7 separate regions of the Homo sapiens genome follow, and all the other regions are linked to region 3. Evidence: promoter capture Hi-C in 16 types of primary human blood cells and fetal thymus (Javierre and others, 2016). All regions are on one chromosome and are shown on one strand. The core of a region is centred on a gene start or on the middle of the fragment in contact, and the rest is flanking DNA. Distances in the headings are between cores, read along the strand shown.

Region 1 (3,148 bases), core at 169-2,668, 1.6 Mb after region 3:
TTTGTTGAGGAGTTTTTACTTCCAATTATGTGGTCAATTTTAGAATAAGTGTGATGTGGTTCTGAGAAGAATATATATTCTGTTGATTTGTGGTGGAGAGTTCTGTAGATGTCTACTAGGTCTGCTTGTTCCAGAGCTGCATTCAAGCCGTGAATATCCTTGTTAATTTTCTGTCTCATTTATCTTTCTAATATTGACAGTGGGCTGTTAGTCTACCACTATTATTGTGTGGGAGTCTAAGTCTCTTTGTAGTTCTCTATGAATTTGCTTCATGAATCTGGGTGCTCCTTATTGGGTGCATATCTATTTAGGATAGCTAGTTCTTTTTGTTGCATTGATCCCTTTACCATTATGTAATACCCTTCTTTGTCTCTTTTGGTCTTTGTTGGTTTAAAGTCTGTTTTATCAGAGACTAGGATTGGAACCCCTGCTTTCTTCTGCTTTCCATTTGCTTGGTAAATATTTCTCCATCCCTTTATTTTGAGCCTATGTGTGTCCTTGCACGTGAGATGGGTCTCCTGAATACAGTACACTGATGGGTCTTGACTCTATCCAATTTGCCAGTCTTTGTCTTTTAATTGGGGCATTTAGCCCATTTACATTTAAGGTTCATATTTTTAATGTGTGAATTTGATTCTGTCATTATGATATTAGCTGGTTATTTTGCCTGTTAGTTGATGCAGTTTCTTCATAGTGTTGATGGTCTTTACAATTTGGTATGTTTTTGCAGTGACTAGTACCGGTTGATCCTTTCCTTGTTTAGTGCTTCCTTCAGGAGCTCTTGTAAGGCAGGCCTGGTGGTGACAAAATCTCTCAGCATTTGCTTGACTGTAGAAGATTTCATTTCTTCTTCGCTTATGAAGCTTAGTTTGGCTGGATATGAAATTCTGGGTTGAAAATTCTTTTAAGAATGTTGAATATTACCCTCCACTCTCTTCTGGCTTGTAGCATTTCTGCATAGAGATCCGGTGTTAATCTGATGGGTTTCCCTTCGTGGGTAACCCGACCTTTCTCTCTGGCTGCCCTTCACATTTTTTCCTTCATTTCAACCTTGGTGAACCTGACGATTATGTGTCTTGGAGTTGCTCTTCTCGAGGAGTATCTTAGTGGTGTTCTCTGTATTTCCTGAATTTGATTGTTGACCTCTCTTGCTATTTTGGGAAAGTTCTTCTGGATAATACCCTGAAGAATGTTTTCCAACTTGGTGCCATTTTCCCCGTCACTTTCAGGTACACCAATCAATCATAGGTTTGGTCTTTTCACATAATCCCATATTTCTTGGAGGCTTTGTTTACTTCTTTTCATTCTTTTTTCTCTCATCTTGTCTTCACACTGTATTTCATTACATTGATCTTCATTCTCTGATAGCCTTTCTTATGCTTGATCGATTTGACTATTGATCCTTGTGTATGCTTCACGAAGTTCTCATGCTGTGTTTTTTAGCTCCATCAGGTCATTTATGTTCTTCCCTAAACTGGTTATTCTAGTTAGCCATTCTTCTAACCTTTTTTCAAGATTCTTAGCTTCCTTGAACTGGGTTAGAACATGCTTCTTTAGCTCAGAGGAGTTTCTTATTACCCACCCTCTGAAGCGTACTTCTGTCAGTTTGTCAAACTCATTCTCCACCTAGTTTTGTTCCCTTGGTGGCGAGGAGTTGTGGTCCTTTGAAGGAGAAGAGGCATTCTGGTTTTTGAAATTTTCAGCCTTTTTGTGCTGTTTTTTTCTCCTCTTCGTGCATTTATCTACCTTTGCTCTTTGATGTTGGTGAGCTTTGGATGAGGTTTCTGTCTAGACGTCCTTTTTGTTGATGTTGATGCTATCCCTTTCTGTTTTTTAGTTTTCCTTCTAACAGTCAGCCCCCTCTCCTGCAGGTCTGCTGTAGTTTGCTGGAAGTCCACTCCAGACTCTATCTGCCTGGGTATCACCAGCAGAGGCTGCAGAACAGCATAGATTGCTGCCTCTTCCTTCTTCTAGAAGCTTCATCCCAGGGGGCCCCCGCCGGATGCCAGCCGGAGCTCTCCTGTATGAAGTGTCCGTCGACCCCTGCTGGGAGGTGTCTCCCAGTCAGGACACACAGGGGTCAGGGACCCACTTGAGGCAGTCTGTTTCTTAGCAGAGCCCCAGCGCTGTGCTGGGAGATCCACTGCTCTCCAGAGCTGGCAGGCAGGAACGTTTAAGCCTGTTGAAGCTGCACCCACAGTCGCCCCTTCCCCCAGGTGCTCTGTCCCAGGGAGATGGGAGTTTTATCTATAAGCCCCTGACTGGGGCTGCTGCCTTTCTCTCAGAGATGCCCTGCCCCGAGAGGAGGAATCTAGAGAGGCAGTCTGGTTACAGTGGCTTTGCTCAGCTTCGGTGGGATCCACCCAGTTCAAACTTCTGGGAGGCTTTGTTTACACTGTGAGGGGAAAACCACCTACTGAAGCCTCAGTAATGGCAGATGCCCCTCCCCCCACCAAGCTTGAGAGTCCCAAGTGGACTTCAGACTGCTGTGCTGGTTGCAAGAAATCAAGCCAGTGGATCTTAGCTTTCTGGGCTCCGTGGGGGTGGGTTCTGCTGAGCTAGACCACTTGGCTCCCTGGCTTCAGCCTCCTTTCCAGGGGAGTGAACGGTTTTGTCTCACTGGCGTTCCAGGTGCCACTGGGGTTTGAAAAAATATTCCTGCAGCTAGCTTGGTATCTGCCCAAAAGGTATTCCAGTTTTGTGCTTGAAACCAGGTCCCTGGTAGCATAGGCACCATAGGGACTCTCCTGGTCTGCAGGTTGCGAAGACCATGTGAAAAGCATAGTATCTTGGCCTGAGTGTCCTCAGGGCACAGTCCCTCATGGCTTCCCTTGGCTAGGGGAGGGAGTTCCCCATCCCTTTCCCTTCCCAGGTGAGGCAACGCCCCACCTTGCTTCAGTTTGCCCACCGTGGGCTGCACCCACTGTCTAACCAGTCCCAATGAGATGAGCTGGGTACCTCAGTTGGAAATGCAGAAATCACCTGCCTTCTGTGTTGATCTCGCTTAGAGCTGCAGACCGGAGCTGTTCTTATTTGGCCATCTTGCCAGCCACCGTCTAATGGCTTTTCAGAGTACGTGCTTCAGTTATCTCCACATGTATATAAAAGTTTATTCATTACCTCATAGACACACTGAACTTGACTGCTG
Region 2 (2,977 bases), core at 118-2,617, 1.5 Mb after region 3:
ACTCCATCTGAAAGCAGTTGGTCAGTGCAACTGGTGGGCCGGTGGTCAAAACAAAGGTTACTCTTGTGCCACCAGCACCAAGGAGCCATTCTTAGAGATGTCTGGTTATTCCTTGGTCCAGAGCCCTGAATTATCCTGTAGATGTGTCTGAATCAGAACAGAGTAAATACCAAGTTAGCAGGAAAAGCTCATCACTACTCTCATTCCTATCTCTCCTCTGGCTGCTCACCTAGTGAGCTCTGCAGCAATATGCTTAGTAGCCCCAGCCAGGGTGTGATGGCCACCAATGTTATCACCAGGCTTAGACAGAGGAAGGCTTGATGTTATATTCTGACATACAGTGCCATATCCTTACCTGAGAATGGAATGGAATGACAAAGGAGATCTGAATTATGGGTGTGAGAAAAGTTTCAGACAATTCTGAGTGAAAAATTAGTCCAATTCCTAAATGACCAAATTGTTCTGATTAGTTAGAAAAAAAGCACAACGGAGGCAGAAACTTTTCTACATTTCTAGCTGAGAAAATTTAAAGATGGGGCTTGAATTACCAAGTGTTAATAGTATTTAAAAATGTTTTATGTTTCTATGAAAAATTGCTCTGTGACTATAAGAAAGTAAAACAAGAAAGAAGGAAGAAAGGAAGCATTGAGACAGAGTAAACAAAGCCAATGAAGGGAAGGAGAAAACAGGGACGATATATAGAGAAAAAGCATGGGCTCAGTTCATTTTCCTCTTTAAAATCCAGAGCTACCTGCCTCTAAAGTTCAAAGTCTTGTCTATAACATCCTGGTGTTGTGCTTTCTGAGTGGGGCTTTCAGAACTTCCCTTGGGGAAAGCCTATGATGCACTGCAAAGAGATGGGCATGTCTGAGGTCAGTGCACATCCAGTGTGATAGCCCCAACTCACCACAGTATCAAGGAGTTGCAGCTGGACCCACAAGTACTAGGGCTAACATATGCCTATTTCTCCCCCATGCTCAACCTAGGTATCTCCCTTAGCAGATGTGGAGCAAAATAACCTTTGCAGAAAATAATCTTAGAGCTTAAACCTGAGCTATGTCTGGAAAGTCCATGGCATTCTGAATAATCTATAATTTACTGAGCATTTGCTGTATTCTAGTCCCTGTGCTAAGAGCTCATACATTCATGTCTTATATAATTCCATCATTGAAATAAGCACATAAGTCAAATGTGTCTGTAATCTTCACTTTCAAAGTGAAGAAGCCAAGACTCTGCATTTAAGAGACTTGCCTAAGTTCACATAGATAATAAAACTCAGTTACCTCCGAAATAAAAGATGACATAACTTTAACCACAAACCATCATGGCCCTGAAACTATGAGAGTAAGGTTGGTAACTTCCAAGGAGGAGGTGAATTTAAATCTATCCTGATTCCAGATCATTTGTACTGCCCCTGGTATAGTTGGAGAGGTGTCACTCTTTTTCTTTTTCTTTTCTCTCTCTCTCTCTCTTTTTTTTTTTTTTTTTTTTTTTGAGATTGGGTCTCACTCTGTCACCCAGGCTGAAGTGCAGTGGCATGATCTTGGTTCACTGCAACCTCCACCTCCCAGGCTCAGGTGATCCTCCCGCCTCAGCCTCCCACGTAGCTGGAACCACCACGCCCAGCTAATTTTTTGTATTGTTAGTAGAGACGGAGTTTTGCCCTGTTGCCCAGGCTGGTCTCGAACTCCTGAGCTCAAGCGATCCACCCATCCTGGCCTCCCAAACTGCTGGGATTACAGGCATGAACCACCACACCCGACCCACTCTTTTTCTTAAATGCATTCATGCACATGCATATGTACATATGTGCACACACATACTCATATACTAACACAGACTGGTATGGGACAGTCTGAGTCTTATGTGATCCATACTCAGCAGTTAACAATAATTATTTCTGTACCCTTACCTATGGAAGACATTCAATCAAAAGTGGCAATTGCTAAGGTTTTCATGGGAACTTAATGTGTCAGGAGATTTTAACCTTAACCTTAAGATGTATTCACTTCAGGAGTCAAGCGCCTTCCAGCATGGTCACAGGATAGTTTTCATGTCTTTGTCTTCCAGTAATGCTTTGAATGTATTGTCATTAATCCATTCATGCAACAAAAAGTCATGGCACTCCTCTAATATGTGTCAGCCACTGTGCTATTCCTTGGAATCACTATCATTATAATTACTACTGTCTTTTTTTTTTTTTTGGTAATGGTCAGTTTTAGTATAACAATATATCTCACTAGGATGAGTGCATTATAAGAGGGTACTGTGCATTTTTCATCACTACATGTCTAGGTCTTAGACACATATGGACATAGCTCTGAGTAGGCGATCAACAAATATGGGGGATTAAATGACAAATTTCATGGGGTATATAGCGTATGTAAGAAATAAGGAACACTGGAGCCCTGGCTGGCAAGATGGCCAAATAAGAACACCTCCAGTCTGCAGCTCCCAGCGAGATCAATGCAGAAGGTGGGTGATTTTTACATTTCCCACTAAGGTACCCAGTTCATCTCACTGGGACTGGTTGAACAGTGGGTGCAGCCCAAGGAGGGTGAGCCAAAGCAGAGTGGGGTGTTGCCTCACCAGGGAAGCGCAAGGGGTCCGGGAGCTCCCTCTCCTAGCCAAGGGAAGTCATTAGGGACTGTACTTTGCACTTAGGCCCAGATACTGTGCTTTTCCCACAGTCTTGGCAACCCACAGACCAGGAGATTCACTCTGGTGCCCACACCACCAAGGCCCTGGGTTTCCAGCACAAAACTGGGCGGCCATTTGGGCAGACACTGAGCTAGCCGCAGAAGTTTTTCATACCCCAGTGGCACCTGGAACGCCAGCAAGACAGAACCGTTCACTCCCCTGGAAAGGGGGCTGAAGCCAGGGATCCAAGTGGTCTGGCTCGGTGGGTCCTACCCCCACGGAACCCAGCAAGCTAAGATCCACTGGCTTGAAATTCTCGCTGCTACCACAGCAGTCT
Region 3 (3,181 bases), core at 168-2,667:
ACGAAGAATGAAAGAAATGATTAGTAGCAGTAGGTTTATTATTTCTTCCCCCTTTCAATCAGTCCAAAACACTGCGGTTAATTCTGATTCAGGAAATGCGGGCTCCTTACTTCTGGCAAAAAATCATTGTGGGGTCTTGCAAATGGAAGATGACAATCTGATACAACTGCTTCCTCTTGCCCCAAAATGAAAAAAAAAATGACCTCAATAACAAGACTGCTAGGCCTCAGATTCCCAGACTAACCTGTGGAATAAGTATGGTGAAACTGTCTAGGGAAGGAACGTGGCTGTCTCCTCCATCTTGAAATTAATCAGCATAAGGGAAAAAGGGACCGAGTATTCAGGAAGCAGAAGCCCAACCGGTTAATACTAGTTACTAAGCTATGGCATGCGTGGCAGGTACCGTCTGCAGAAGCAGAGACCCCCCTAGGCTTTTTTTTTTTTTTTTAATGGGGGAGGGATTGAGTTGTTGGTGGATTAAACACAAATTAACTTGAAAATTTGGCCCAATTCCATCCCTTATCCAGGAGAACACAACAAACACCTAACGGCTTTTCCCTCTCTTTTGCGGGGGGATCCTTCCAGTGATACCTGGCAAAGGATATGCCAGGGTTATTCGAGCAAGGGAGTAAACCACATTTGCCTCAGATCCTCAGGGAAGATGTCATCGCGGCCCCAGGGGGCGCCTAATTGGTAATACCCTGCAGAAGGGCTCAAAATGAGGTTTTGGAAATCTAAAGGCCCAAGAGTTGCCAGCATCTCACTTGGGGCAGCCTGATTTTTTACTTCCCTTTTCCCAAACCCAAGCCCGCCATGGAAAACGCGGGGAGGTCAGGGAAGCCTCCAGAGAACAGAGAAGAAAAAGCCTGAGACGTTCTAAGATTCTGACGCCTGAGGCCAAAACTCAAAAACTGCCTCCCCCGATTTCCTAAGGCTCCGGAGGGCCTGGGCTGCAGCTCGCGCGGCCACCGAGAGGAAGTACTACCCACCTCCTTCCCCTTCAAAGAGCCTGTCGACTATACCACTCAACTAAAATGGCAGCGGCGACTACGCCACGGAGCCCCCCGCAGCAACGGGCCTGGGGTCCGGAGGCGGCGCTGAGCCTCTGCCACGACGCGTCACTCGGGCCATTTTGAGAGAACGCGGCAGCCGCGGCTCCGCTGTCTTCCTCTCGCTCTACATCATTTCTCACAGGATTCCCAAGTCTTCACTTACTAGGTTTTAGGGTCAGGATCCGACTCGGTTGGTTCGGCCGCCGCCGCCGAGGCTGCTCCGCACCTCCCTGGCCGCCGCTCTCAAGCCCGCCTCCAATGAGTAGCTGGTTGAGACCCGCCTCTAGCCCAGCGCCTGCTCGGAGACGTTGCTCAGGCAGCCATTATCTTCCCCATTGTTACCAAGCAGCGACAGGAAACGACTGCCCACAACAGGAAGTGATGATGCCGCGTCCCGGCACCGCAGCCCCACTCCCAGCCTATTAGCCAATCCCAGTCGATTCCTCGAAAAGGCTCCGCGGGAGGAGGAGGGGGACGGCAGACGACGCGGCAAGGCGGGCGGCGGTTTGGAAAAGGAAAGCTGTTATGACGCCCACCATGTGACAGGCCCCACCCTCCTCCGCCATTTTGAATTGTGGCGAGAAATTTGCGTTCTGAGAATTGTGGGAACCTTCGCTTTCCCATTTTGAAAACTGAAGGACGTCACGGTCTGACTGCTTGAAGACATTTTCAGAGAGAGAGAAATGTGATATTAGTCTACCCTGACATCACATCAGTTCACACAATCCGTGCAGACCAGTTCAAAAAGTAGCCTGCGTTTTATTCAACATGTATTTACACAGTGCCAACTGCATGTCAAGCACCATTGTAGCTGCTTAGGAAATTAAAATAGACCAAAATTAAGAAAGAAAACAGGCCACGTTCGGTGGCTCACGCCTGTAATCCCAGCACTTTGGGAAGCCGAAGCGGGCGGATCACCTGAGGTCAGGAGTTCGAGACCAGCCTGGCCAACATGGTGAAACCCAGTCTCTACTAAAAATACGAAAATTAGCCGGGCGTGGTGGCGGGCGCCTGTAATCTCTGCTAATCGGGAGGCTGAGGCAGGAGAATAGCTGAACCCAGGAGGCGAAGATTGCAGTGAGCCGGGATCTCGCCACTGCACTCTAGCCTGGGTGACAGAGCAAGGCTGTGTCTCAAAAAAAAAAAAAAAAAAAAAAAGAAAACAGATCAAAATCCCAGTTCTCTTGAGTCTTTATAGGGGCCAGGGACAATAATTTAGAAAAAATCAAACATAAATACATATCATGTTAGTGATAAATGCCAAGGAGAAAAATCAAGGAAGGGGGACAGAAGAGTTCCTTGTAGGGACAAACGGATTCGTGATGTTTAAAAGACTGATAACTTTGAGGCATTAACTCTAAAGTATTCGAAAAAGGGCGGTGATTGTAAAAGGGTGGGAAAATCTGATAACGTTGGGATTTGTAAAAGGGCAGTTAAAGAAGGCCTTTCTTAGGTAGTAATGCCTGAAAGAATTGAGGGAACTCGCCACACAGCATGCCACTCCCATTGTCACAGTTAAAGGAAAACCTTACCCAAGTTTTTAGATTCTTTTCCTTTTCCCAATTTTTCTGTTTTCCAATAGCATGCCAGCTATGCTGGCTTTGTTACGGTTTTTCCAACAAAGCTAACTTCTTCCTACTTCAACTACTTTACCTTTGCTGGAATATTTTACTTTCATATCTTTGCTTTCATCATCCAAGCCTCGCAATTATTAACTTCCTAGAGAAGCCTTCCCTGACCACCCTACCTAAAATAACTTCTTCCTGAAGGCGGAAAAAGGTCTGAGGAAAAAAAAAAAAAGAAAAAAGTAATAACGACTTCTCCCATCTCCTTACCTGCTTACTTTTCTTGTAAAACACTTAATCTGAAAGTAAGTTATTTATTTGTTTGTTTACTTCACCCTTTCTGAGCAGTAAACCTCTCTGTTTTGTTCACTGTTGTGTCCCCAGCGACCACATAGTAAGCCCTCAAAATACTTTGGGAGAATTACCCCCTCACCATGATGGATGTTATATCAGCCTGGAATATAAGTATTTCACTCCAAGCAGTTAAAACAATATCCCTCATACTTACCTGCCCAACTCCCTAGAAGACTCATTGATATTGTCATTTTTGGCAGAGGGATACAT
Region 4 (3,086 bases), core at 497-2,996, 1.5 Mb after region 3:
GCTCTGCCTCCTGGGTTCACGCCATTCTGCTGCCTCAGCCTCCCCAGCAGCTGGGACTACAGGCGCACACCGTCAAGCCCGGCTATTTTTTTTGTATTTTTAGTAGAGACGGGGTTTCACCGTGTTAGCCAGGATGGTCTCGTTCTCCTGACCTCATGATCCGCTCGCCTCGGCCTCCCAAAGTGCTGGGATTACAGGCGTGAGCCACCGCCCCGGGCTGATTGTCTTTTTAAAATAAAACTTACCGAAAAGGTAATATATTTCATGTATCAAAAACCAAATAGAAGAAGCATAAAGTATCTATTCCAGCTTAATCTCCCATCTCCCCAGTTCCCACCTTCTCCACCCACACAGTTAACTATTTTTATTCATTTCTTCTGTAAACTTTGTGTGTGTTTACATAAGGAGATAGCCCCCACCCACTTTTTCATATAATTTGTAGCATACAATATACACTTTTTGTTTCTTTTCTTTTCTTTCTTTCTTTTTTTTTTTTTTTTTTTTAAGATGGAGTTTCCCTCTTGTTGCCCAGGCTGCAGTGCAGCGGAGCGATCTCGGCTCACCGCAATCTCTGCCTCCCGGGTTCAAGTGATTCGCCTCCCTCAGCCTCCCGATTAGCTGGGATTACAGGCATGCGCCACTATGCCTGGCTAATTTTGTATTTCTTTTTTTAGTAGAGACGGGGTTTCACCATGTTGGTTAGGCTGGTCTTGAACTCCCGACCTCAGGTGATCCACCCGCCTCGGCCTCCCAAAATACTGGGATTACAGGAGTGAGCCACAGCACTAGGCACAATATACACTTTTTAAGTCACTTAAAATATATCTCACTGGTCTTTCCATGTCAGTACATTGAACACTTCCTTGTTATTTTTTGTAGCTTCATTGTATGGTTGTACCATAATTTATTTAATGTGTTGCTCTGATGATAGACATTAAGGTTTTGCTCTTACAAACAATGCTTCAGTAAACAACCTGGCACATATTTTTTTAAAATATATACAAATACCGGCATGTCTGTGGGATAAATTTCCAGAGGTTAATTTGTTTTGTTAGAGCCTTATGCATTCATAAGTTGATAGACGCCCTAAATTGCCTTCAACATGTGTGCCAAATTATACTGTCACCAACAATGTGTCAAAATTTCCCATAGCCTTGCTAACAGTATTTTATCAATTTTTTGGGTGAATTTTTTTGTAATTACAATTGGTGAAAAAATAGTCACATATCTTTGATTTTTAGTAATGGGTTTCCAGCTTAAAATGGTCTTTAATAAGCAGTACTTGATGTTGCCTTTCTTGGCTTCTGACTAATATACAAAAGAAGATCCAGAAGAGGAGGAAAGCTTGCAGTAACTCTGAAAAGTAAGACTGAGAATGAACCCATTGCCAGAATATATGAAACATTCCCATAAATTCTAAATTGAGTGATGTAGTACCCAATTATTGAATACTCACTATATGTGGAGGAACGTATATCTGTCTGTGTACACACACACACACACACACACACACTTCATCATTTCTCCCTTGGAACTCTTCATAATGATCCTGTGAGGATGTGAAATTATGAGCCATATTTGACAAGTGAAGAAACTTTGTCTTGGAAAACTGAAGTGACTGACTTGCCTAAGGCCATGTAATAAGAGGCACATCTGAGGTTCAAACACAGGCATGCCAGACTCCAAACTATAATAGAACTCTTTTCAGTATTTCACATGCTTTATCCCTCTCACACTTTGATTCCTGGCTCAGCAACAGAAAAGTTATACCAGTCAGAAAATTTGCCATCTCCCTCAAAACTTTATTAGCACTGATATCTGAGGTAGTTCAAAACACCTTTCCTTTTTCTATTCCTTCCCACAGATAGTATCTTCCTTTCTATGTCAATAAAGAAACTAGAAGTTGGAAACTCAAAGTGTATGTGCAAGATAGGAGGCTAGATGTAGAAGTGACAATAGGGTTGCAGCTGGCAGCCCATTGCATTCTGGCAAGTGGAGAAGATAACCCAATATAATAATAATGGTTAATATAGATTGAGCTTTTACAGTGGTCAGGGACTTCGCTAAGTGTTTTCCAGGCATTAGTTTATTACAGCAGATTCTTGGGGTAGGTAATATTATTATTCCCTCATTCTAGATGAGGAAATGGAAGCTTGAATAAGTGAAATTACTTGCTGGGATGTTTGTAAAAAGATCTTTGCTCTGGAAGTCAGGAGGCTTCTGTGATACTGCTGCTAGTTTACTTTATAATTTTGTATAAGTGGCTGTCCCTTTCCTTGCTTCAGTGTCTGAACCTGGAATTTTTTATGCGGTTTTTGAGACTCTAAGTTCATTGGGGTGGAATTTGGAAGGGTGGTCAAGCATGAATAGGACTAGAAGGGAACACAAATATTTTTTGCTCAAGACATTAGTCTCAGCTGTACCTCCATATGTCTTTTCCCTGCTTTACCCCTTCCTACTTGTTCTCTTGCTCATGGCACTCATTCTCTTCCCTAGTTGTAGATTTAAGTTAAGTCCAGTAGGAACTTGACACACTCAGAAAATGGATGAAAACCCAAGGGGATGCTACTTTTGGGACCATTGTCTGAGCTTTTTTGGGTTACTGCCACCTGTCACAGTTTAAGAGATGTGGAGAGCCACTCATGGCTGTCAGAGGCTGTGTCAAGGAAACAATATTCTGGTAATGATTTTTATTTACCATGAGGGTTTGGTTTCCTCTTCTGGTGTCTACTTGGACTTCCCTAAGAATTAGTTACCTTGGTTCTTGGGCTTGGCATCAGCCCACAGAGCATGGAGCCAATCAAGTACCATAAGTCCTGCAGAGATTTAAATTTCCTGGTGGCAGCATTTCTGGCACAGGCTTATGTTTTCCTATGGTTACTTAAGCCCTTTATTAATGCACTCTGAGTTTCTCTCATGGTTTGGCTCCTCAAGAAGTCAGGCAGTAGCGTTCAAGGTATGGGGAAGGTATCAGGTCAAGACAGAAATATTTGGCAGCTTTAGGGATTTTCTGTTTCCACTCTTAAGGTGTGCCCTGAATAAGAGCTGTAGAAGAGTCATCTGGGGCTGACTTCTTTGAGGCCCCA
Region 5 (3,102 bases), core at 486-2,985, 1.6 Mb after region 3:
TGCCTCTATTCTCATCCAATCTCTGGGCGACACAGGATAAGTTATCTCTGGTGTTTTAGAAGAAGAGCTAGTGCATAACCAGCAGTTGTTGGAGTAAGGAAATTCTGTGCTTTGAAGCAACTGTAGTGCTTTTTCCAATTAAGAAAAATCAAGATGGTACTGTGCTGCTAGTAAAGAGGTGAAAATGAGAATTAGCAGGAGTGGGCCCATGGTGCCATAATGAGATTGTGAAAAAGAGAAATTAGTAACAAATCAAGTTGTAAAGGGAATTGCCCGAAAGTAAGTTAAGGTGAAGAAAAATTAGCAACAAAGTAGTTTCTCTTGGGACTTTGGGGGGGCATACAGGTTAGGGTTAAAATAAGGTGAATAAGTGATGCTATTGCAAACAGTATTCCTAATATTGGAATTATATTACTTTGAGGTGAAAGGATCTGCGGAGGCATTGGTTATCTTTCCATCTAAAGAGGAATTTCAGATCCTTCAATTGTTCACAATGTATTCTGGAGTTGAAGTCGTTGGATTCAGTTCCAGTGTTTAAGGGCCTTTCCAATACTTCACTCAGGTGTAGTGTATCCAGCTGCTAATCTCTGTTACTTTAATGGCCGTGAGGGTAGAAATAGAAAATGCAACAGTAAAGGGTCTCTCTTTGACTGGAGTTAGTTGGGAATTTGGGGTTCTATTCTTCCAAGCTTTGAGGAGAACCAGTGAGTTTGGAGGATATAGAGGTGGAGATTTTTTCTCTTCTAATTTTGTGTTTGTTTTTAACCCATATTCCTGGAGGGCTTGATGGAGGTCTGCTAGAAAAGAGACATACTGGTTGATTTTAGCAGTTTCTTCATCTAGCAGTAAGTCAGAATACAGGAATGGCCTAACATATAAGGCCTTGAAGGGGCTTAATTGCAAAGGGGTCTGAGAGGCAACACAAATCTGAAGGAGAACTAAAGGTAAGAGGTCCACCCATGTCTGTACTGTTTCCTGACAGAGTTTATTGAGGATGTGTTTGAGGGTTTAGCTAGTTCTTTTCAGGTTCCCTGAAGATGGTGGTCTCCAGGCAAAGTGAAGGTACCCTTTTATGCCTAGGCAGAACTGACCTGCTGATTCGTTTGGGAAATTAAGGATGGACCATCGTCTATTTGCGGTGACCTAGGAAGCCTGAATTGGGGAATGAGTTCCCTTAGGAGGAATTAGCTGCCTCTTGTGTCTTTTCAGTCCTTGTGGGATAGGCCTGTACCCATCCTGTGAAGGTGTCTACACAGACCAAGAAGTACTTATGCCCGCAGCATGTGGTGAGCTGAGTATAGTGCAACTGCCAGTCCTCCCCAGGGTATGTACCTGTCCTTTGGGTTGGACTTGGGGGCTTCCCTCTTTGGGGATTACTTATGATGCACAAGTTGAAAGGTTGACAAACATGTTGAATAGTTTTGTTTATTCTCTTCCTATCTACTTGATATAGTTTGGATCTGTGTCTTAACCAAATATCATGTCAAATTGTTGCAGATGAGGCCTGGTGGGAGGTTGTTGAATTATGGGGGTGGATCCTTCATGAATTGTTTAGCATCATCCTCTTGGTGGTGTTCTTGTGAAAGGTAGCTAGCCTTTTTGTACAGCCTGTAGAAGTATGAGACAATTAAACCTCTTTTCTTTATAAATTACCCAGTCTCAGGCATTTCTTCACAGCAATGCAAGAATGGAATAATACACTACTAAACATTAATTTACATATTTGCCGTAGATTGTCCTTTTCAACGTGGCAGGAGTTGTGTGAACTCGTGATGACCTTCTACCCTTGGGAGGCCCTTGGTAGATGGAGAAGTTCCCCAAGTTTGTACCATTTATTGGTTTCTTTTTGATACCTACGTTGGGTGGTTCAATTTATTTCTTCCTGAGTGTATTGGAGAGGGGATAATTCAGTGGGGAGCAATGGGAGTAAGGCCCCAGGTAAGTATCCTTTGAGACAGCTGCCTCTTTAGTTTGGGGTTGGTCATCCTATTTTCTTGTGCAGTTTCATTGGAGCCCCTCTGGTGTCTCTCACAGGGTACTACTGCCACCTCCTGGGTCAAGTGAACAGCATCTAGTAGATCTAAGATTTGGGATCTGTACTGCCCTTGTCAACGTGATGAGTTCCACTAGTTGTGCTGAGGTCCCCACGGGACAGAGCTTTTATCTCTATGACTTGGGAAAGGGACACTATAAAGTACCCTGCATGTCTAGCTCTATTCCAGATAAAACTACTCCCATCTGAAAATCATATTTTGTTTGGATTGTCCAGAAGCTGATCCTCTAAGTCCTCCAAGCTGGCATAAATTTGGTTAAGTATTTCACAGCATAAATGTGCCAGGTTATTGTTTCCTGGTAGTGGAAGTAAGGTTGGCTGAGTTGAGGATGGAGTACCGCTAAACTGTTACCTGTGGGTTTTCTAGTAACAGGCCCTGGTACTTCAACAGTTTGTTGTCAGTGAACCATTGTGGCCCTTTTATGTTCAATAAGGGGCCTGTATGGTGTGATGGCAGGATCTGGATTAACTGTCCCATGGTGATTTTGAGGGCCTCCTAGTATAGGAGCCCTGCTGCACTCACTATCTTGAGGCAGTGTGGTCACCCTCATGCAACTGGGTCTAGGTTCGTTGAAAAGGTACCTACTGGAGATTTGATTAGCCCTATGGTTTGAATTAGGACTCCTAAGGCTACAACTTGTCTTTCAGTAACAAAAAGCTGAAATGGTTTGGTTAGTATGGGTGGTCCAAGGGCTAGAACTTGTGAGAGGGCAGTTTTTAGCTGCCTAAAAGCTTGCTCCTGATATTTTCCCCAGAAAAGCGAGTTTCTATTAGTCATTTTTTTTAAGTCTGATTAAGGACTTAACAATTCTATCATACCCCGGTATCCAAAGTCTGCAATATCCTGTGATTCCCAGAAAGGCCTGAAGTAGCTTTTGGGTGGTTGGGGTAGGTATTTTAAGGATGACCTATATTCATTCTGGGGAGAATTTAGGATCTCCACAGGTCAGGATTATCCCCAGGCATTGGACCTCTTGTCTTAGTAGTTGTGACTTGGATAGTTGGACACTTCATACCCTCTGGGTATTTAACCTCTTGTCTTAGTAGTT
Region 6 (2,862 bases), core at 168-2,667, 1.6 Mb after region 3:
AGGTCCTGCTTTCACCATTTTTCTTTGGCTGTTTTCAGGATTTTTTCTCCCTTCAGGTACTTGCAATGTTTTCTGTGGATTGAGGTGGAAACAAATCTTTAGGATCCCAACATTGCAGGGAAGCTCATTGTCAACATCAATTTCACTTTTTTCTAGTATAGTAACTGAGTTATGGGAAAATTTTCTGGATGCTTGGTGTCTGGCAGAATGTAGGATGGGCATCAGAGCTATATTCAATTATCTTACTATCTGTATGAAGTTTTTTCACTTCTACTTGACCACAACATCTATTTTATCCTCATATTTGAGTTCTGGAATTTTGCTGTTGATAAGCTTGGCACTGCATATTTGGTTTTGATTTTCTGGTAGTGGGGAGAGAAGCCTGCTAGCTTCTACTCTACCATTTTGGTGATGTCTCTACATAAAAGCATTTGACAAAATTTAACATCCTTTCTATCATGATAATAAGAAATATCTGAAAGTTTTTATTCTCAGATTTAGTACTAGGCAAAGATGATTTTTCTCATCTCTTTTATCCAATGTAATACCAGAAATACAAACCAGAGCAATCAAGCAAGAGAATAAAATAAAGTTCATCCAAGTTTGAAATGAAGTCAAATTATCATTGTTTGCAGATGACATGATCTTATAGTTGGAAAATCCTAAAGACTCCACTAAAACATTGTTAGAGCTGATAAATTAAGTAAAGTTATAAGCAACACAATTAACATACAAAAATTAGTAGCATTTCTATACATAAGAAAGAATTTAATGAAACAATCTTATTTAAAATAGCATAAAATATGTTGGAATAAATTTAACCAAGGTGGTGAAAGACTTGTACACATAAAACTATAAAACTTTGTGAAAAAAATTGAAGATGACACAAATAGATGAAAAGTTACTGTGTGTTCATGAACCAGAAGTATTAATATTGTTAAAATATTTTTACTGCCCTAAGCAATATACTTATATTTGTGTGAACCATGGAGAAAATGGAACAAGTATAATGTTGACCTGAAATACTAGCAACCTCTATTGATCTGTTGCCAGATGGAAAACAAGACATTTCCATGGAAATTGCAGAGTAAGTACCACCAGTGTCTATCCAAAAAAGATATATTAACCTACATTTCCATGGAAATTGCAGAGTAAGTACCACAAGTGTCTATCCAAAAAAGATATATTAACATAAGGAAAAGTTATTGAGACATATGATTCACCAGTTTTTATTTCCAAGATTTTTAAATCTATCAGTTTAGAGCCAATTGTAAAGTTTTCTTAGCTGAGGGTTTTATCCTTCTATTGGCTTTACTGATTTTCTTATTCCTGAAATTTATTCATCCTGTGGTATTTTTATCTATAGATTTTCCTAAAATGTTCTTTTTTTAAAAATAACATATAGTTTTCTTTCCTTTCTCCCTTTATATATTGACAAATATAGGAATTACTTCTGTTAGTAAAATGTTCTAATTGAGTGGTTAAAACAGTAGTTTTGCATTTCTTCTTTATATTTCTCTAGATTGTCCCCAAACTGAATAGCTGCTGAGCAATAGTCTGTCCTTGTCATACTGCCATTTTTTACTCAACCTGGGTTTGGATAGTTGTCAAGATAGCCAATACTCAGTTTGCTAAGACTAGAGTGCAGTTTTGGTCCTCAACTCTGTCCATGCCAGTGATTTTTCAAAAAGCCTCAACAAACCACTTATAGAAATCAGTGGAGGCACTCGCCCTTTTCTGGGTACAATGCTGTAACATTTTCTAGCTCACCTTTGTAGAAAGCCTTCAAGTAAAGTCACCAAGAAATCCCTTCAGTGGGCTGCTAGTGCACTTAATTCTTCTGTAGTTGTAGGTGGTGGTGGATAATAGCCCTCTCTTGGTCACAGTGACTTTTCATGTAGGGGACCTATTTTTAGACTGTCTACTTGTTGCTAGAAAGTCTGCTGATTGCAAAATCTTCTACAACAACCAGTGTAAGCAACCATGCTTGGGTCTGTAAACACAAAACATGCTGTGCAGTATTTCTGCAAACTTCTATGAGTCTTCCAGGTCACAGAAAAAGAAGTCTTTAGATAATTGATACCAACCAGTGAGAAAAGCATGTATATTCTTTTTCTTTTCTTTTGTTTTCTTTTTTTTTTTTTTTTTGAGACAGAGTCTCGCTCTGTTGACCAGGCTGGAGTGGAGTGCAGTGACATGATCTTGGCTCACTGCAACCTCTGCTTCCTGGGTTCAAGTGATTATCTTGCCTCAGCCTCCCAAGTAGCAGGGATTATAGGCACCTGCCACCACGCCAGGCTATTTTTTATTTTTTTATTTTTTAGTAGAGATTGGGTTTTATCATGTTGGCCAGGCTGGTCTCAAACTTCTGACCTCAAATGGTCCACCCACCTCGGCCTCTTAAAGTGCGGGGATTACAAATATGAGCCACCGTGCCTGGCCACACATGTGTATTCTTAATTAATTTACCCCCGATGGGTGTGGGTAACCTCTCAATGGCATAAGCTTTGTTGGTGATCTGAATATAACGGATTGATTTATTTTTTGTCTAGAGAAAGAAAAAATATAGAGTTATATGGCACTTTTGTCCCCTTTTCTGTATTAGTGAGCAGTCTAATACCTTTTTTCTCTTTTTTTCAAGTGACTAATAAAAATACTCTCCATCATTCTGCCTATATATGAAGACACAGCCTGATCTTCAAATTATCAATTATTCTGTGGTCATGTTTATTTTTTTATGTCTGTTTTCCTAGCTGTATGGTGTGTGAATGAGAACAGACTCTTGGATGTGGAATCTGGGCTCAGATATGAAGTGGACTTGGCTAGGTCATAAAGCACACAAACCCATGTCCTCATACAGAG
Region 7 (2,903 bases), core at 129-2,628, 1.8 Mb after region 3:
CGTGATCTGTCCACCTCAGCCTCCCAAAGTGCTGAGATTACAGGCGTGAGCCACCGTGCCCAGCCAAGATGGGGTCCCTAATACAATCATGAATTAAACTGATTCAAGGCTGGATTTCAGTCTTTATGTGTGCTGGTAGGAAAAAAAGTCAAAGATGTAAGGCCAGAGAGCAGGATATATTGTGTCATCAATGGTTTCAATAAGATACATGAGCCAGCTTTCTCTAAGTTATGCTGTGGGTTTTTAAAAAATACCCAAATCTCAGAGGCTTACAACAACAAAATTTTGGGCTCATTTTACATCCCTTTCATGGGCTGTCTGTGATTCTGTTTATATTGTCTTCCTTCAGGTAACCAGGCTAAAGGAGTAAATCATATATGGGACACCTGTTCTTGTGGCAGAAGTAAAAGAGCCATAGTGGAACCATGTGATAGTTTTCAAAGCCTATGCTCATATATGGCATATTGTAGTCATAATCCATTGGCAAAAGCAAGTCACATGGGCAAGCTTGATGTCAATGAGCTGGGAAGTGTACTCCTTCTACAGGGAAGAACATATAGGAATGGGCCCAGTAGAGAGGAAGAACATATATTTTTGAATAAAAAATTAGTCTACCATATAAGAATTTGGCTTTAGTTGTGAGTGAGATGGAAAACTATTTAAGGCTTTTGATCTGAGCGATGGCAGGAAACCACTTAGTTTTGACAGGATTCTTTTGGCTCTCATATTGAAAAACTAAAGGGGGTGGGGAGGGCAGAAACTCTAATTTTAGCATAGTAATTTCTTCTTAATGTACCTATGAAAAGAGGTGTTATTTTCTGAACAAAATCAAATTTAAAGAAATTGAAGTCAGAAAGCCTGTTATCTTTTAAAAAACACCTTGGAAATCAAACTCCGTGGTATCAAGGTTAAAAGGCATTAGAACATAGTAGTAAGAGCATGTAGTCTAGAGTCAAAGTGCCTGGGTACAAACCCTGGCTCTCTCTGATACTAGAGATGAGAACTCAGGCAAGTTACTTAACTCCTTTGTGCCTCCATTTTTTCATCTGTAAAATGGGCATAATAATTTCACCTACGCCATAATGTTGGGGATTAAATGTGTTAACATGTAAAACACAAGAGCACTTGACATGTAGTTAGCAATATATAAGTGATATTGTTGCATGTTGATTTTTTCCAGGAATGAGACTGTGAGTGATTTCCTTGCAGAAATTTTACTGGGGAGTTGTTTTGGGTTCAACAGGTGTGGGGAGCAAGAGAAGCAGAATTGTGTAGAAAGAGAAGTCGAGCAGTGATTCAGTCACAGCAAATAAATTAACTGATTCCACAGGGAGCTCTGGAGTTGGTGTGGTCCTGCAGAGTTGTCCCAAATTAGGAAAAAGAGGCCAAAGTTTTATCCCACCATACTCACCAGTCGTTGGATGCAAACTGCCTCCTGGTAAGGGGCTATGACTTTTTGAGAGTCAGTTCTTTTCAGCTGAGAGTAATCCCTGAGAAAGGTACTCAGCTGTAAACACAGCAGCTGTCATCACCCTCAAGAGCTGGAGGAATGAGTAATGTGATCCTGAAGAGTAGGAGCATCTGGGTGATACATCACAATCTCCACTACAGTTGTTGCTGTTTTTATTGGTTTCCTTCCCCTCCCCTCCTACTCTTTAATAATAATTCTTCCTCTTCTTCTTCTTTCTCTTCTTCATCATCCTCATCTCTTTCCCCTTTCCTCTTCCCACCTTCTCCTCCTTGTTATTATCACTATTACTATTGTTATAATCTAAAAGAATTACATATCTTCTTATATCATTACTAATATTTTTTTTAAAAAATCTGTAAAGATTACATATATTCTTATTGTTCTGCCTGGGATATAACACCCACATCACTGAATCGTTTTACTCTTCGCACAACCTTCCTGAGAGAGAGGCTCTGATAATAGAGCTTCATTTACTTCTTAAGTTCTGTATTAGTTCTCTATTCTTTTCATGTTTCTTAGTAGACTTGTGTGTTATCCAATTGTTGCCAGAAGATGTTACCTAAGCAAGTTTCTTGGTTGTTTGTCATTTAAATATTGCGAACTATTTTTCTCTCAGATAAACTTGACCAACATGCACAAACATTCAGAATATCCCACTAAAGACAACCAAGGAAGAAAATACGTTTTTTTTCATGCATTTCTCTCAAAAGTAACCATTTTGGTCTCAGAAAATGTCTGATTAAATGTCTTTGTTCAAATGCACCTGTTAGATTAGGATGCAAGCTTTTGTTTCAAGATTCCATGTGTTCAGTGGAGGGTCGTGCTCTCATGATTACATGAATGTGTACTATTTTTTAAAAAAGGATCTTGTCATTCTGCGTTAAGGTAATGATCATTGACTTGTGTCAAACCCTGCAAAGAGCTACAGTCAATGTGACTGACTAATTGCTGTACTCATCTGTGGTGGAATGGAAAAGCTTCTAAACTTCACAGGAGAAGTCTCTTCTCTTTATGTAGAGAGAAATCATGGGTGGGACTCTGGTGATTGTCTTCACATTGTTATTCAATCTTGCCAATGAATGGTTCTGTAAGATTTCCCCTTTTGCCTAAGAAGTTATGTAGCCACTTAATCTAATCTAAGTAACTGCTAAAGTTCTCTAGGTTATCCACATATCTCAGATGATGACTCATCAAAATTGATTAAAAACAATTATTTCCCCAAAATTGAATTTGAGATACAGCCTTAAAAATTGGTAGATTGAACAGAAAGGATGATTATGGAAATTCACAACTGTGATCCTTTGTTGGTAGAGTGGATAGCGGAAAAGCAGTCATTTTGAGATGAATGTGGGGTTTGATTGTTTTGTTTTGTTTTGTTTTTTGATGAGTGAGATAACTTTGCTCTGTCTTCCTGGATTAGACTATTTCAAGT

What was found. Contacts are between HindIII fragments. The CHiCAGO score rates a contact against its expected background, and 5 or more counts as called.
Region 1: a fragment that was not itself captured here is called in contact with the fragment with the promoter of RLIM in region 3 in 1 of 17 cell types (M0 macrophages); the score reaches 5.3 in M0 macrophages.
Region 2: a fragment that was not itself captured here is called in contact with the fragment with the promoter of RLIM in region 3 in 7 of 17 cell types (fetal thymus, total CD4 T cells, naive CD8 T cells and 4 more); the score reaches 8.6 in fetal thymus.
Region 4: a contact is called between a fragment that was not itself captured here and the fragment with the promoter of RLIM in region 3, in 10 of 17 cell types (fetal thymus, M0 macrophages, total B cells and 7 more). The highest score is 15.2, in fetal thymus.
Region 5: a contact is called between a fragment that was not itself captured here and the fragment with the promoter of RLIM in region 3, in 4 of 17 cell types (total B cells, naive CD8 T cells, non-activated CD4 T cells and 1 more). The highest score is 10.7, in total B cells.
Region 6: a fragment that was not itself captured here is called in contact with the fragment with the promoter of RLIM in region 3 in 1 of 17 cell types (total CD4 T cells); the score reaches 5.0 in total CD4 T cells.
Region 7: a fragment that was not itself captured here is called in contact with the fragment with the promoter of RLIM in region 3 in 3 of 17 cell types (total CD4 T cells, total B cells and non-activated CD4 T cells); the score reaches 5.8 in total CD4 T cells.

Annotation. Positions count from the first base shown.
Region 1 is chrX:76,180,681-76,183,828 of GRCh38, forward strand. No RefSeq gene overlaps it. Among named protein-coding and RNA genes, the nearest start is that of PBDC1, 9.2 kb to the left of the region's middle. The HindIII fragment of the contact is 1,114 bases long and covers 862-1,975 here.
Region 2 is chrX:76,156,616-76,159,592 of GRCh38, forward strand. No RefSeq gene overlaps it. Among named protein-coding and RNA genes, the nearest start is that of PBDC1, 15 kb to the right of the region's middle. The HindIII fragment of the contact is 4,234 bases long and covers 1-2,977 here.
Region 3 is chrX:74,613,207-74,616,387 of GRCh38, forward strand. It overlaps RLIM (ring finger protein, LIM domain interacting), which reads right to left and starts at 1,418. Exons shown (of 4, transcript NM_016120.4): 1 at 1,216-1,418. RefSeq lists an enhancer at 1,023-1,342. The HindIII fragment of the contact is 9,843 bases long and covers 1-3,181 here.
Region 4 is chrX:76,135,410-76,138,495 of GRCh38, forward strand. No RefSeq gene overlaps it. Among named protein-coding and RNA genes, the nearest start is that of PBDC1, 36 kb to the right of the region's middle. The HindIII fragment of the contact is 808 bases long and covers 1,343-2,150 here.
Region 5 is chrX:76,251,587-76,254,688 of GRCh38, forward strand. It overlaps the pseudogene LOC100533728. Among named protein-coding and RNA genes, the nearest start is that of PBDC1, 80 kb to the left of the region's middle. The HindIII fragment of the contact is 2,096 bases long and covers 688-2,783 here.
Region 6 is chrX:76,226,779-76,229,640 of GRCh38, forward strand. No RefSeq gene overlaps it. Among named protein-coding and RNA genes, the nearest start is that of PBDC1, 55 kb to the left of the region's middle. The HindIII fragment of the contact is 2,172 bases long and covers 332-2,503 here.
Region 7 is chrX:76,431,879-76,434,781 of GRCh38, forward strand. No RefSeq gene overlaps it. Among named protein-coding and RNA genes, the nearest start is that of MAGEE1, 5.6 kb to the left of the region's middle. The HindIII fragment of the contact is 1,747 bases long and covers 506-2,252 here.